Linked DNA regions of Homo sapiens: all the other regions are linked to region 2. Evidence: promoter capture Hi-C in human tissues and cell types (Jung and others, 2019). All regions are on one chromosome and are shown on one strand. The core of a region is centred on a gene start or on the middle of the fragment in contact, and the rest is flanking DNA. Distances in the headings are between cores, read along the strand shown.

Evidence for each region. Contacts are between HindIII fragments. The study calls those that stand out against the background at their distance.
Region 1: a fragment that was not itself captured here is called in contact with the fragment with the promoter of EIF2B5 in region 2 in 5 of the 25 tissues and cell types used here (H1 embryonic stem cells, IMR-90 fibroblasts, bladder and 2 more).
Region 3: the fragment with the promoter of HTR3D here is called in contact with the fragment with the promoter of EIF2B5 in region 2 in 2 of the 25 tissues and cell types used here (IMR-90 fibroblasts and neural progenitor cells).

What each region holds. Positions count from the first base shown.
Region 1 is chr3:184,059,731-184,063,997 of GRCh38, forward strand. HTR3C (5-hydroxytryptamine receptor 3C) reads left to right here. Exons shown (of 9, transcript NM_130770.3): 8 at 98-313; 9 at 420-943. The coding sequence ends at 622. Among named protein-coding and RNA genes, the nearest start is that of HTR3C, 8.8 kb to the left of the region's middle. The HindIII fragment of the contact is 8,084 bases long and covers 1-4,267 here.
Region 2 is chr3:184,133,800-184,137,166 of GRCh38, forward strand. EIF2B5 (eukaryotic translation initiation factor 2B subunit epsilon) reads left to right here and starts at 1,559. Exons shown (of 16, transcript NM_003907.3): 1 at 1,559-1,781; 2 at 2,813-2,937. The coding sequence starts at 1,587. EIF2B5-DT (EIF2B5 divergent transcript) reads right to left here and starts at 1,462. Exons shown (of 2, transcript NR_183721.1): 1 at 737-1,462; 2 at 1-479. RefSeq lists enhancers at 1-589, 1,459-1,518, 1,839-1,908 and a silencer at 1,659-1,768. The HindIII fragment of the contact is 14,690 bases long and covers 1-3,367 here.
Region 3 is chr3:184,030,309-184,034,440 of GRCh38, forward strand. HTR3D (5-hydroxytryptamine receptor 3D) reads left to right here and starts at 1,434. Exons shown (of 8, transcript NM_001145143.1): 1 at 1,434-1,499. The coding sequence starts at 1,434. The HindIII fragment of the contact is 22,402 bases long and covers 1-4,132 here.

The DNA.
Region 1 (4,267 bases), core at 690-3,189, 74 kb before region 2:
GAAGGGGCTGTGAAAGAAGATTGGATTTAGGAAAGAGGCGTGAGGAATGCTTAGAGATAAATTTGCCTGGTTTATTTATAATTTGCTCTGCCCTCAGGTGTCTACTTCGCCCTGTGCCTGTCCCTGATGGTGGTCAGCCTGCTGGAGACCGTCTTCATTACCTACCTGCTGCACGTGGCCACCACCCAGCCCCCACCCATGCCTAGGTGGCTTCACTCCCTGCTGCTCCACTGCACCAGCCCAGGGAGATGCTGTCCCACTGCGCCCCAGAAGGGAAATAAGGGCCTGGGTCTCACCCTCACCCACCTGCCTGGTGAGGGAAGCCAGCACTGTCCATACTCGCCCTTCACACTGGGCCCAGCACTCCTCTAATCCTGTCCCCTTCCCACTCCATGACTGAGCCTCTGTCCTCTCCACAGGCCCAAAGGAGCCGGGGGAGTTAGCAGGGAAGAAGCTGGGACCCAGAGAGACCGAGCCAGATGGGGGCTCAGGATGGACAAAGACCCAGCTAATGGAGCTGTGGGTGCAGTTCAGCCACGCGATGGACACCCTGCTCTTCCGCCTCTACCTGCTCTTCATGGCCTCCTCCATCCTTACTGTCATTGTCCTCTGGAACACCTAGGCAGACATCCCCCCTCTCTGGCAAACAACAGCTTGGAGTTTCTGCTGGTCTTGGGCCAGCCGGACTCATTTTCCTAATCTTAGCCACTTATCCCCAGTGACTACCATGTCCCCTTCTAAATTCCAAAGACTCCAACGCAGCACTAGCAAGCAGGTTCGGGACAGCCCTGGACGATTTCCCGACCGCTGCTCAGGCTGCTCATTCCTGCTCACCCTCAGTCTCCCTGAGCTACCACCTAACTCCTCACTCCCTGATCAATGGAAGTCCAGGTCAGTGGAGTCTCTCCTTGATTGATCACCCCAATAAACAACTTTCCAGGAAGCACTGGCTCTTCAGTTTGTTTGTTTGTTTGTTTGTTTGTTTGTTTATTGAGACAGAGTCTCACTCTGTCACCCACACTAGAGTGCAAATGATGCCATCTCAGCTCACTGCAACCTCCGCCTCCCAGGCATGATTCTCATGCCTCAGCTTCCCAAGTAGCTGGGATTACAGGTGCACACCACCACACCCAGGTAATTTTTGTATTTTTAGTAGAGACAGGGTTTTGCCATGTTGGCCAGGCTGGTCTGGAACTCCTGACCTTAAGTGTTCCGCCCACCTCGGCCTCCCAAAGTGTTGGGATTACAAGCGTGAGCCACCTCGCCCAGCCCTCTTCATTATATTTATTATAAGTCTACAAACTCTGCGGTGGAGAGTCCTCTTGCAGAAGCTTTGATACTTCCCCCTAAGCAGGTGTAATCTGATGTGATTTTAAGGGTTTTAGATACTTTCAGAGTTTTATAAGAATAAGAAGGCCAAGTCTTATTTGCAAGAAATTATTTCATTTGCAATAAAATATTTACAAATGCAAAATGTTCCTTTCAGCAACCATTTCTTTTTCACTTTCCTTTACCTCTCATTCCTGAAATTGCTCTTTGAAATAAATCATATCTTGTGTCATTCTTTTTTATTCTAACAGGTTTCTCTTACTTCACAACATCAAACAGAGCGGGCTTTCTAAATATGTGTGCTTGAGGCTGGGGGGTTCATGCCTGTAATCCCAGCACTTTGGGAGGCCGAGGAGAGAGGCTAGGAGTTTGAGACCAGCCTGGGCAACAAAGCGAGACCTTGTCTCTACAAAAATAATAATTAACTAATTAATTAATTAAAAATTAGCCAGGTGCAGTGGTACATGCCTGTAGTCCTAGCTACTCGAGGGACTAAGGTAGGAGGATCGCTTGAACCCAGTTCAAAGTTACAGGGAGCCACGATCGCACCCTTGCAATCCAGCTTGGGCAACAGAGCAAGAACCAGTCTCTTAAAAATAAAATGAAACGAAGAAAGGTTTTTTAAGTTCCCTGTTAATAGTAGTTCACAGCAGGGCTCGGTAGCTCACACCTGTAATCTTAGCACTTTGGGAGCCCAAGGTGGATGGATTGCAAGGTCAGGAGTTCGAGACCAGCCTGGCCAATATGGTGAAACCCCATCTCTACTAAAAATACAAAAGCTAGCTGGGCATGGTGGTGTGCACCCGTAGTCCCAGCTACTCGGGAGGCCGAGGCAGAAGAATTGATTGAACCTGGGAGGCAGAAGTTGCAGTGAGCCGAGATTGTGCCACTGCACTCCAGCCTGGGTGATAGAGCAAGACTCTGTCTCAAAAATAATAATAATAATATAGTAGTTCACACCTTCATCAACAGCTATAATCATGGGAGAATTCTAATAGCTAGCTGCAAGAAAGACCCTGAGGAGAAACAGAAATTGAAAGAGAAAGTCAAAAAACACCAGCGACAAATTTCTGGATGATATTTCAATTGGATAAACACATTTCAGGGATTTATTTGTTGGCCCTTCTGCCTCCCCTAAGAGTATGCTTTCATAAAGATCAGGGTCAACGTCTCATCCATTTTTATAGTTTAGCACATGGTACCACATCTGGCACATCGTGGATACTTAACACAGACTTGGGGGTTTTTTTTTGTTTTTTTTCTTTCCAACTTTTAGGTTCAAGGGGTACATGTGCAGGTTTGTTACCTGGGTAAATTACATATCGCAGGGGTTTGGTGTACAGATAATATTGTCATCCAGGTAATCAGCTTAATACCCGACAGGTTAGGGTTTTTTTTGTTGTTGTTGAGATGGAGTTTTGCTCTTGTTGCCCAGGCTGGGGTGCAATGGTGCGATCTTGGCTCATGGCAAATTTCGCCTCCCAGGCTCAAGCTATTCTCCTGCCTCAGCCTCCCAAGTAGCTGGGATTACAGGCATGTGCCACCACGCCCAGCTAATTTTGTATTTTTAGTAGAGATGTGGTTTCTCCATGTTGGTCAGGCTGGTCTCAAACTCCTGACCTCAAGTGATCCACCTGCCTCAGCCTCCCAAAGTGTTGGGATTACAGGCCTGAGCCACTGCACCTAGCAGTACTAGGTTTTCTGTTCCTATGTTAATTGTCTTAAGATAAGGCCTCCAGCTCCAACCATGTTTCTGCAAAGGCCATTATCTCCTTTTTTATGGCTGTGTAGTATTCCATGTGCATATGAACCATATTTTCTTTATCCAGTCCACCACTGATGTGCTTCTAGGTTGATTCCATGTCTGCTATTGTGAATAGTCCTAAAATGAACATACATTTGCATGTGTCTTTATGGTAGAATGGTTTACATTCATTTGAGTATATAATCTATAATAGAATTGCTGGGTCAAATGGTAGCTCTATTTTAAGTTCTTTGAGAAATCTCCACACTGCTTTCCACAGTGGCTGAACTAATTTACATTCCCATCAGCAGCATATACATGTTCTCTTTCCTCCACAACCTCTCCAGCATCTGTTATTTTTTCAACTTTTAAATAACAGCCAATCTGACGGGTGTGAGATGGTATATCATTGTGGTTTGGATTTGCATTTCCCTAATGATTAATGATATTGGGCTTTTTCTCATATGCTTCTTGGCCATGCATATTTCTTCTTTTGAGAAATGAATACGGCATTGTTGAATGAGTAAATGTGTGAATGAATGCCAGCCAGCCAAAATCCACATTTTACTAGCTCTAGCTGTAAATCCCTTCCCAATATATTTTCTTTTCTTTTCTTTATGGAATGTGGACAATTAGCAACACATCTTCATGTGTCAACTATCTCTGAGTTCTTGGAGATGTTACTTATATCCTGGCAAAGGCAGTTCTGATATCAGATTCTCTTGTTTCCTTCTCCTTTCCATTACTTGGAACATATCTCCCACTCAGAAACTCAATTGGTTTTTCCCAATAACTTAAAATGAAGAATATCTGTTAAGCCTTTGAGGAATTTCAAATTTCTTAAGATCAGTTTTGTATCATTTCTTTTTCCTTCCCCATTTCCATGTTTATATTTCTCTAGATGTCATCTTGCGATTTTTTCATACATATGCAACTTTAGGTTTTCTGTGCTAAGACTTTTGTTTGACAATGCCCTTTGCAAAAGAACATTCTGCTGATATGTTCAGGTGGAAGTGCGATTTGTGGGGTAAAACATGACCTGACAATGAAGCAAAATATATTAAACTACTACTAGCCAACATAGGTCAGCAGGAACGTTACAGGTGTTTCACAGTTTGGGAGGGAGTGGTTCTGGTTTCTGATACCTCTCATTTTAAGAAAGAGAAAAGGACGGATGTGGTGGCTCATGCGTGT
Region 2 (3,367 bases), core at 309-2,808:
GCGGATTCACCACTTCCCAACTTCCCAAGGTTGCGGGAATCATTTAAAATAAATTCTGCAATCGGACCTACTTTCCATACCCAAACACCCCCCCAAGAGTGTGTGTGTGTGTGTGTTTGTGTGTGTGTGTGTGTGTCCTATTTAATTCCTTCTCCCCTCCCCCATTTCTACCTCTGGATTTGTAGGGCAGTTGAACATTCCTTTTCTACAACGTGCATTCATTTAATGGAAAACTTTTACTTAGTTGGCTTCAGCCTTTCCTTTTCTAGGATAAATCAAATGGTTTTCGTTCCGCACCCTAACGAGGCAAGAAATGACAAACTCCTCGGTCCCCCTAGGCGGGCGCCGGAGCACGACGGGTCAAGTCGGAATCGCCACGTGGAAACAGCTCTCAGCATCGCGAACTCCAAATCCCGACGTGCAACGCGGGGCGGGATGGGAACAGTTTGCAGGAACTGCAGAAGCCTGTGGCGTGGAACCTGGACAGGTCCCGTGCAGAAAGGGCGCTATGCCTTACAGAAAAGTTCCTTGCCTCCCAAATGACGCCCAGCCTTCCTGCCCCGTTCCACCGCTTTCCCACGGCCCCGCCCCTCTACAGAGTTGGTTTATTCCCCGCAGCCACCGCTTCTTTCCCCAAAGAGAAAAAGGTGCTGCTGCGCCTTTTCAAGCCTTGGACCTTTACGCCCGCACTTTCCTCTGCCCAGAAAGCTTACTGCTTAACTCCAGTACAACTTACTGGTGCGCCTGGATCCACCCCCGTCTCCACTCTGCTTAAGACACAGGAGGCTGATAGGCTGGAAGAATGAATAGATGACATAAAATAGTCATTGTTATCCCCACATAACTTGGCAGCAAGATTGTGGAACTCTGCAGTCAGACAGATCGGGTTCCAATACCAGTTCTTCCACTTACTAGCTGGGTAAACTTCCTTCATCCTTCTGAGAGTTCAAGAAACGTTTGCTGAACGAATGAATAAGATGTTTTGCAGAGATAATGCTTGTATCGTGCCTGGCCCAAAATCAGCGCTCAATGGAATTACTGGTCTCCCTACTATATGCCTGCCACCTTCTCTATTTATGCAGGTTCTGAGTTCCTCGCAGCGGGGGAACATCTGGCTCGGTTCTATCTCCCCAAGGCGCTGGGTTCCCAGAAGTTTCTAGAATGAATACGGAGGGCTACATATTTCACATGCGCGGGGCGGGGAAACTGCTGGGCGATTACAGATTCCCGATGGAGCTGGCCCCTTCGTGGCGACCACAAGTCCTATCACGCCACAAGAATCTCGGCTTGTTCACCTACAAATGAAGGCCGACGATACTTGCAGACCGAGTCTGACATCTATGGGACCCCACTCCTACCCTGCGCCTCAGGGGCCGGGACAACCGTGACCCGTACCGACTCCTCGCGCCTCCGGGATCAACCTCAGACCCCTGTGGGCTCCCGGGGAAGACGCATGCGCACTGCTCCCTCCTCGTCTCCTTCCCTTCGTTAATTAGTCCATCGCATTTCAAGTGCTGGATCCTTTTTGTCCCCTACTGCGTGCGGTGGCAGCTTCCTTGCGGAAGTGGTGACCGTGAGAGAAGAAGATGGCGGCCCCTGTAGTGGCGCCGCCTGGTGTGGTGGTTAGTCGGGCTAACAAGCGCAGCGGCGCGGGGCCGGGAGGCAGCGGTGGCGGGGGAGCCAGAGGGGCGGAGGAGGAACCGCCGCCGCCCCTACAAGCAGTTCTGGTGGCCGATAGCTTCGATCGCCGCTTCTTCCCCATCTCCAAGGACCAGCCTCGGGTGAGCGCCGCGCACGCGAGCAGCCAGAGGGCAGGAAGGGTGGCAGGGCTGGAGCAAGTTCTCATTTCGGCTAACTACAACAGCATGCCCTTGAAGGACCTGCGTCTATGCTGTTATCCTAAAACCGGATGCAGAGGGACTGTCTAAACCCTGATGACTGCTGACCAAGTTAGTGGCCGGCAGATTTGGGCATTCGTAATGCTGTCCACCTCGGGTTTGAAAGGAATGAAGAGAGCTAAATGTAGAAACAGCGCTTGAGAGAAGCCTTCACGCGGGGATTCAGTGCCCCTAGAAGAGGCTGCGCCGCTTTTAACCTTGCCGATGACGGTTGCTTAGGTGAAAAGAAACGACCTTTTGCCTCTGAAAGGGCGGTAATATGCCTTAAAAAGAGCGGGCTAGATCTCAGGCAGTGTATTTTTTTTTTCCTTCCAGGTTCTAATGATAGCCGGTGCTATCTGTCGAAAGGACAAAATGGGTTTAGTGGTTGATTGCCATCAGCCCCCGAGTTGTCTAGACAATGGGGTATTGGACTCAGCTGGGTCGTTCAGCAGTCAGTTCAGAAAGAGGGAACTGCATTGGATTTAAGGAAAATCCTCTCTAATTCCCTCGAAAAAGCCTAATGGCTGTTCATTTTTGACAAGTGACGGGAGATGGCTAACCTCTGACACTTAGAAAGGGATCAAGGAAGGAAATCTTATGGGGAAGAAGGCCTTAGCAATGCTTAAATTTATGGAAATATGATTGATTTCCAGTATTATCCTTTGCCAGCAGTGAACTGCCATTCTGTCACAGCTCTGTGTCTGATACAAGGCACATAGATTCTGTACTTACCATCCCCAAATTGCAATGTCTCAGACTCAGGCTTAGAGCATGGCATGAACATCAAAGGCAGGAACCTGTTTATCTTTGAATTGGAAAGATACAGCAAAATTACACTGTTTGGAAATACGAATAGAGGAGTGAAAATTGTTGCAGTGGGGTACCCAAAGGGATTCGAGACCTCAAGTTTTTTTTCATCTTGTATCCTTCAGGTCCTCTTGCCCCTGGCCAATGTGGCATTAATTGACTACACTCTGGAATTCCTGACTGCCACAGGTGTACAGGAAACATTTGTCTTTTGTTGCTGGAAAGCTGCTCAAATCAAAGAACATTTACTGTAAGGCCCTGCAACTTTTCTTTCCATGTTTCGCCATCTTTTTCCAGTTTTTTCAGGATGAATGTAACTAAGGGGAAATGTGAGAGGGGAAAAATGTGTCTACTTAGATGTCATTGTAAGTTCTAAGGGTATTTTCTACACTTATCAGGAGGTGAGCAGCTGAAACTTTGTATCTGTCTGTCTTGGGTTTTCTGTGACAAAGATTAAAGAATAAACTTGGGTTTTTTCTGAATCTCATTATAAAGTTTGGTGCCAGTGGACTTTGCTTTTATTTAATGGCTTCAGTATGGAAGTTACAATGATAACATCTTTGTTTTCCCACTGAGTTTCTAAATCTTGTTTGTTCTCACCTTCAAGGATATAAATGAGCTCCTTGTCATCTTTGTATTCCCACTGCCTAGCTCAGTCCCAAGCATATAGTGAGCACTTA
Region 3 (4,132 bases), core at 184-2,683, 100 kb before region 2:
CGAGTTAATGGGTGCAGCACACCAACATGGCACATGTATACATATGTAACAAACCTGCACGTTGTGCACATGTACCCTAGAACTTAAAGTATAATAAAAAAATGAAAAAAAAATTATCTGGGCTTTGTGGTGCATGCCTGTAATTCCAGCTACTCGGGAGGCTGAGGCAGGATAATCGCTTGAACCCGGGAGGCAGAGGTTGTGGTGGGCCAAGATCGCGCCATTGCACTCCAGCCTGGGCAGCAAGAGAGAAACTCCATTTAAAAAAAAAAATCATAAGTCAGCTTTTATTTTAAAAAAGTATTACCTCTGCCACCACCCCCTACTCCACTAATCACTCCCTTCATTGGGTAGACCTGGGTCCAGATTGCTTTTGAAACACTAAAAAGGCATAGCAAATCAGCTTTGAGAAGAGGAAGCAGAAATATGTCATCACTGGAGCAGTGCTAATGGCTTCCTCATACTTTAAAGTCTTAACTATACTGAAGTCATGTTTAAAACCTCAGTGTATGAAGTTGCTTATATTAATAGGGACCCCCCTCCCCCCAACACGCTTTCTTTTTTGAAAGATGGCAGTAGGGGGCCGGGCATGGTAGCTCACGCTTGTAATTCCAGCACTTTGGGAGCCAAGGTGGGCAGATCACCTGAGGTCAGGAGTTTGAGGCCAGCCAACCAACATGGTAAAACCTCGTCTCTACTAAAAATACAAAAACTTAGCCAGGCATGGTGGCAGGCGCCTGTAATCACAGCTACTTGGGAGGCTGAGGCAGGAGAATCGATTGAACCCGGGAGGCGGAGGTTGCAGTGAGCCAAGACTGCACCATTGCACTCCAGCCTGGGAGACAGAGGGAGACTCCGTCGCAAAAAAAAAAAAGGAAGGGAGGGAGGGAGGGAGAAAGAGAGAGAGAGGGAGGGAGGGAGAGAGAGAGAGAGAGAGAGAGAAGGAAAGAAAGAAAAAAGAAAGAAAAAGAGAAAGAGAAAGAAAGAGAAAGAAAGAAAAAGAAAGAGAAAAGAAAGAAAGAAAGAAGAAAGGAAAAGAAAAGAAAGAAAGATGACAGCAGGGTCTAACAAGTTCACGTGCCACCTGGAGGCAGTGGTAGTCATCCATGCCTTCTCGGTGAGGCACTGTACGCCAGAGTGACTTTAAAGTATGAGGAAGCCATTAGCACTGCTCCAGGGACCACATATTTTTGCTTCCTCTTCTCCAAACTGATTTGCCATATTACTTTTGGAGGCTAGATTCAGGCCCAGTTAAAGCACAGGGTGAGTTATTCCTCTGTGACATTCTTTTGTCACCAAGGGGTCTTGTTAGAGAGGCGGTTAATGCCAGCTGATATATATATTATTCAAAGGTAGGGCTCAAGGTGTGATCTGAGGTTTTTTAAAGGTTAACATCATCATCAAGTACCCAGAGAAGTGCCAAAGAGAGGAAGATGGAAAGAGGCTGGTTCCATGGGAAAGGATTCCTCCTTGGCTTCATCCTCCACCTGCTGCTGCAAGTACCTTAAGATAAGAGCAAGAGCTGAGCAGACATGTAACTCCTGGGAAGCAGAGAAAACAGGCTAATATTTTTTATTCTGAGATAGTCAATGATTGGATGTTCGTTATGGTAAAAATGATGCTCGTGACACTGATGGCTTTGTACCTCTTCCTAGGATCCTAATATTTAGTTAACTCTTTTCTCTTCTTTTTTTTTTTTTTTTTGAGATGGAGTCTCGCTCTGTTACCCAGGCTAGAGTGCAGTGGCAATATCTCAGCCCATTGCAACCTTCACCTCCCAGGTTCAAACGATCTCATGCCTCAGCCTCCCAAGTAGCTGGGATTACAGGCACCTGCCACCGTGCCTGGCTAATTTTTGTATTTTTAGTAGAGATGGGGTTTCACCATGTTGGCCAGGCTGGTCTTGAATGCCTGTCCTCAGGTGATCTGCCCGCGTGGGCCTCCCAAAGTGTTGGGATTACAGGCGTGAGCCCCTGAGCCCAGCCTGGGAACTCTTTAAGATAATCCTAGTGATGAAGACTACTAAATGTTAGAACAATCACAGCACATAGTAAAGACACAGTAAATACTCATCAAATTGAAAAACTGAAATTGATTTGTTTCCTTAAGATCCCATATATCTCACACTACCTATCTGATTACTCCCCTTATCATTAATTTATTAGCATCTATGCCATATTAATACAGCGAGGCGGAGAACTGTGAGTGCAAAATTTGTCACTGACATCACCCACATGGCTCCAGGTTGGAGGTAAGCAAGAGAAGGACACTGGCAGAAGGTGGAGAGGTTGCAGTGAGATTGTTAAGGACATGGCAGGACACTGTAAAGTGGCGGTCGGGGTTGAGTTTGCATACACATCTGGACAGGTTTTGCATGGGGACAAAACAATGGCACTGAGGATGGATCCTTGACTCAGCTCACCTCATCAGTTTCCACCATTTGCCTACCAGCTCAGCCTACTCTTCCTGGACCAGGAAGGAGGAGCTCACATGCTTCTCCCAGTGCCCCCTGTTTTCTCTCCATGCAGAAACACTCTCCAGGCCCCCCAGCCCTGGCCCTCCTCTCTCAGTCTCTGCTCACTACAGGAAATGGCGACACTTTGATTATCAATTGCCCAGGCTTTGGCCAGCACAGGGTGGACCCTGCAGCCTTTCAAGCAGTGTTTGACAGAAAGGCTATTGGTCCAGTCACCAACTACAGTGTCGCCACTCATGTCAACATCTCCTTCACCTTGTCTGCCATCTGGAAGTTGTAAGTCCTCACCCAACATTGCAGTGGTCTAGTGGTGAGCAGTGGACCCTCTGACTGGATTTTTTTTTTTTTTTTTTGAGATGGAGTCTTGCTCTTGTCACCCAGGCTGGAGTGCAGTGGTGCAATCTCAGCTCACTGCAACCTCTGCCTCCCAGTTTCAAGCGATTCTCCTGCCTCAGCCTCCGGCACGTGCTGCCCCACCCAGCTAATTTTTGTATTTTTAGTAGAGACAGGGTTTCACCATGTTGGCCAGGCTGGTCTCAAATTCCTGACCTCAGGTGATCCACCTGCCTTGGTCTCCCAAAGTTCTGGGATTACAGGCATGAGCCACCGTGCCTGGCCCTTTGATTGGATTTTGTAAAATTAGTTACTCACAACAAAAAAATCAAACAACCCAATTCAAAAATGGGCAAAGGACTTGAATAGACATTTCTGCAAAGAAGAAATACAAACAGCCAATAAGCACAAGAAAAGGTGTATGTTCAATGTTACTAATAGTTAAGAAAATGCAGATCAAAGCTACAGTAAGATATCTCACACCCACTAGGATGGCTAGTATTAAAAAACAAACAGAAGCTGGGCGAGGTGGCTCATGCCTGTAATCTCAGCACTTTGGGAGGCTGAGGCGGGTAGATCACGTGAGGTCAGGAGTTCAAGACCAGCCTGACCAACTTGGTGAAACCCCATCTCTACTAAAAATACAAAAATTAGCTGGGCGTGTTGGTGGGCACCTGTAATCCCAGCTAGTCGGGAGGAGGAGACAGGAGAATTGCTTGAACCCAGGAGGCAGAGGTTGCAGACAGCCAAGATTGTGCCACTGCACTCTAGCCTGGGTGACAGAGCAAGACTCTGTCTCAAAAAAACAAAACAAAACAAAATTAAAAAACCAGAAAATAACAAGTGTTGGTGATAATGTGGAGAAATTGGAACCCTTGTGCACTGCTTGTGAGGATGTAAAATTGTGTAGCCACTGTGGAAAAACAGTATGGCTTTTTCTCAAAATATTAAAAATAGAATTACCATACAACCAAATAATTATACTTCTGGATAAATACCCGAAAAAAGTGAAAACGGGGTATTTGTACACTTATGTTCATAGCAGAATTACTCACAATAGTTAAAACTCAGAAGCAGTCTAAGTGTCTATTGACAGATGAATGGACAGATTAAATGTGGTATGTACTTACAATGGAATACTATGCAGCCTTCAAATGGAACAAAATTCTAACACATGCCACAATGTGGATAAGCTGTGAGGCCATTATGCTAAGTGAAATAAGTCAGTCACAAAAAGACAAATAGTGTATTTGTCTAATTTTATAGAGACAGAAAGTAGAATAGCTGTTGCCAGGGGTTGGAGAGAGGGTGAAATAGGGAATT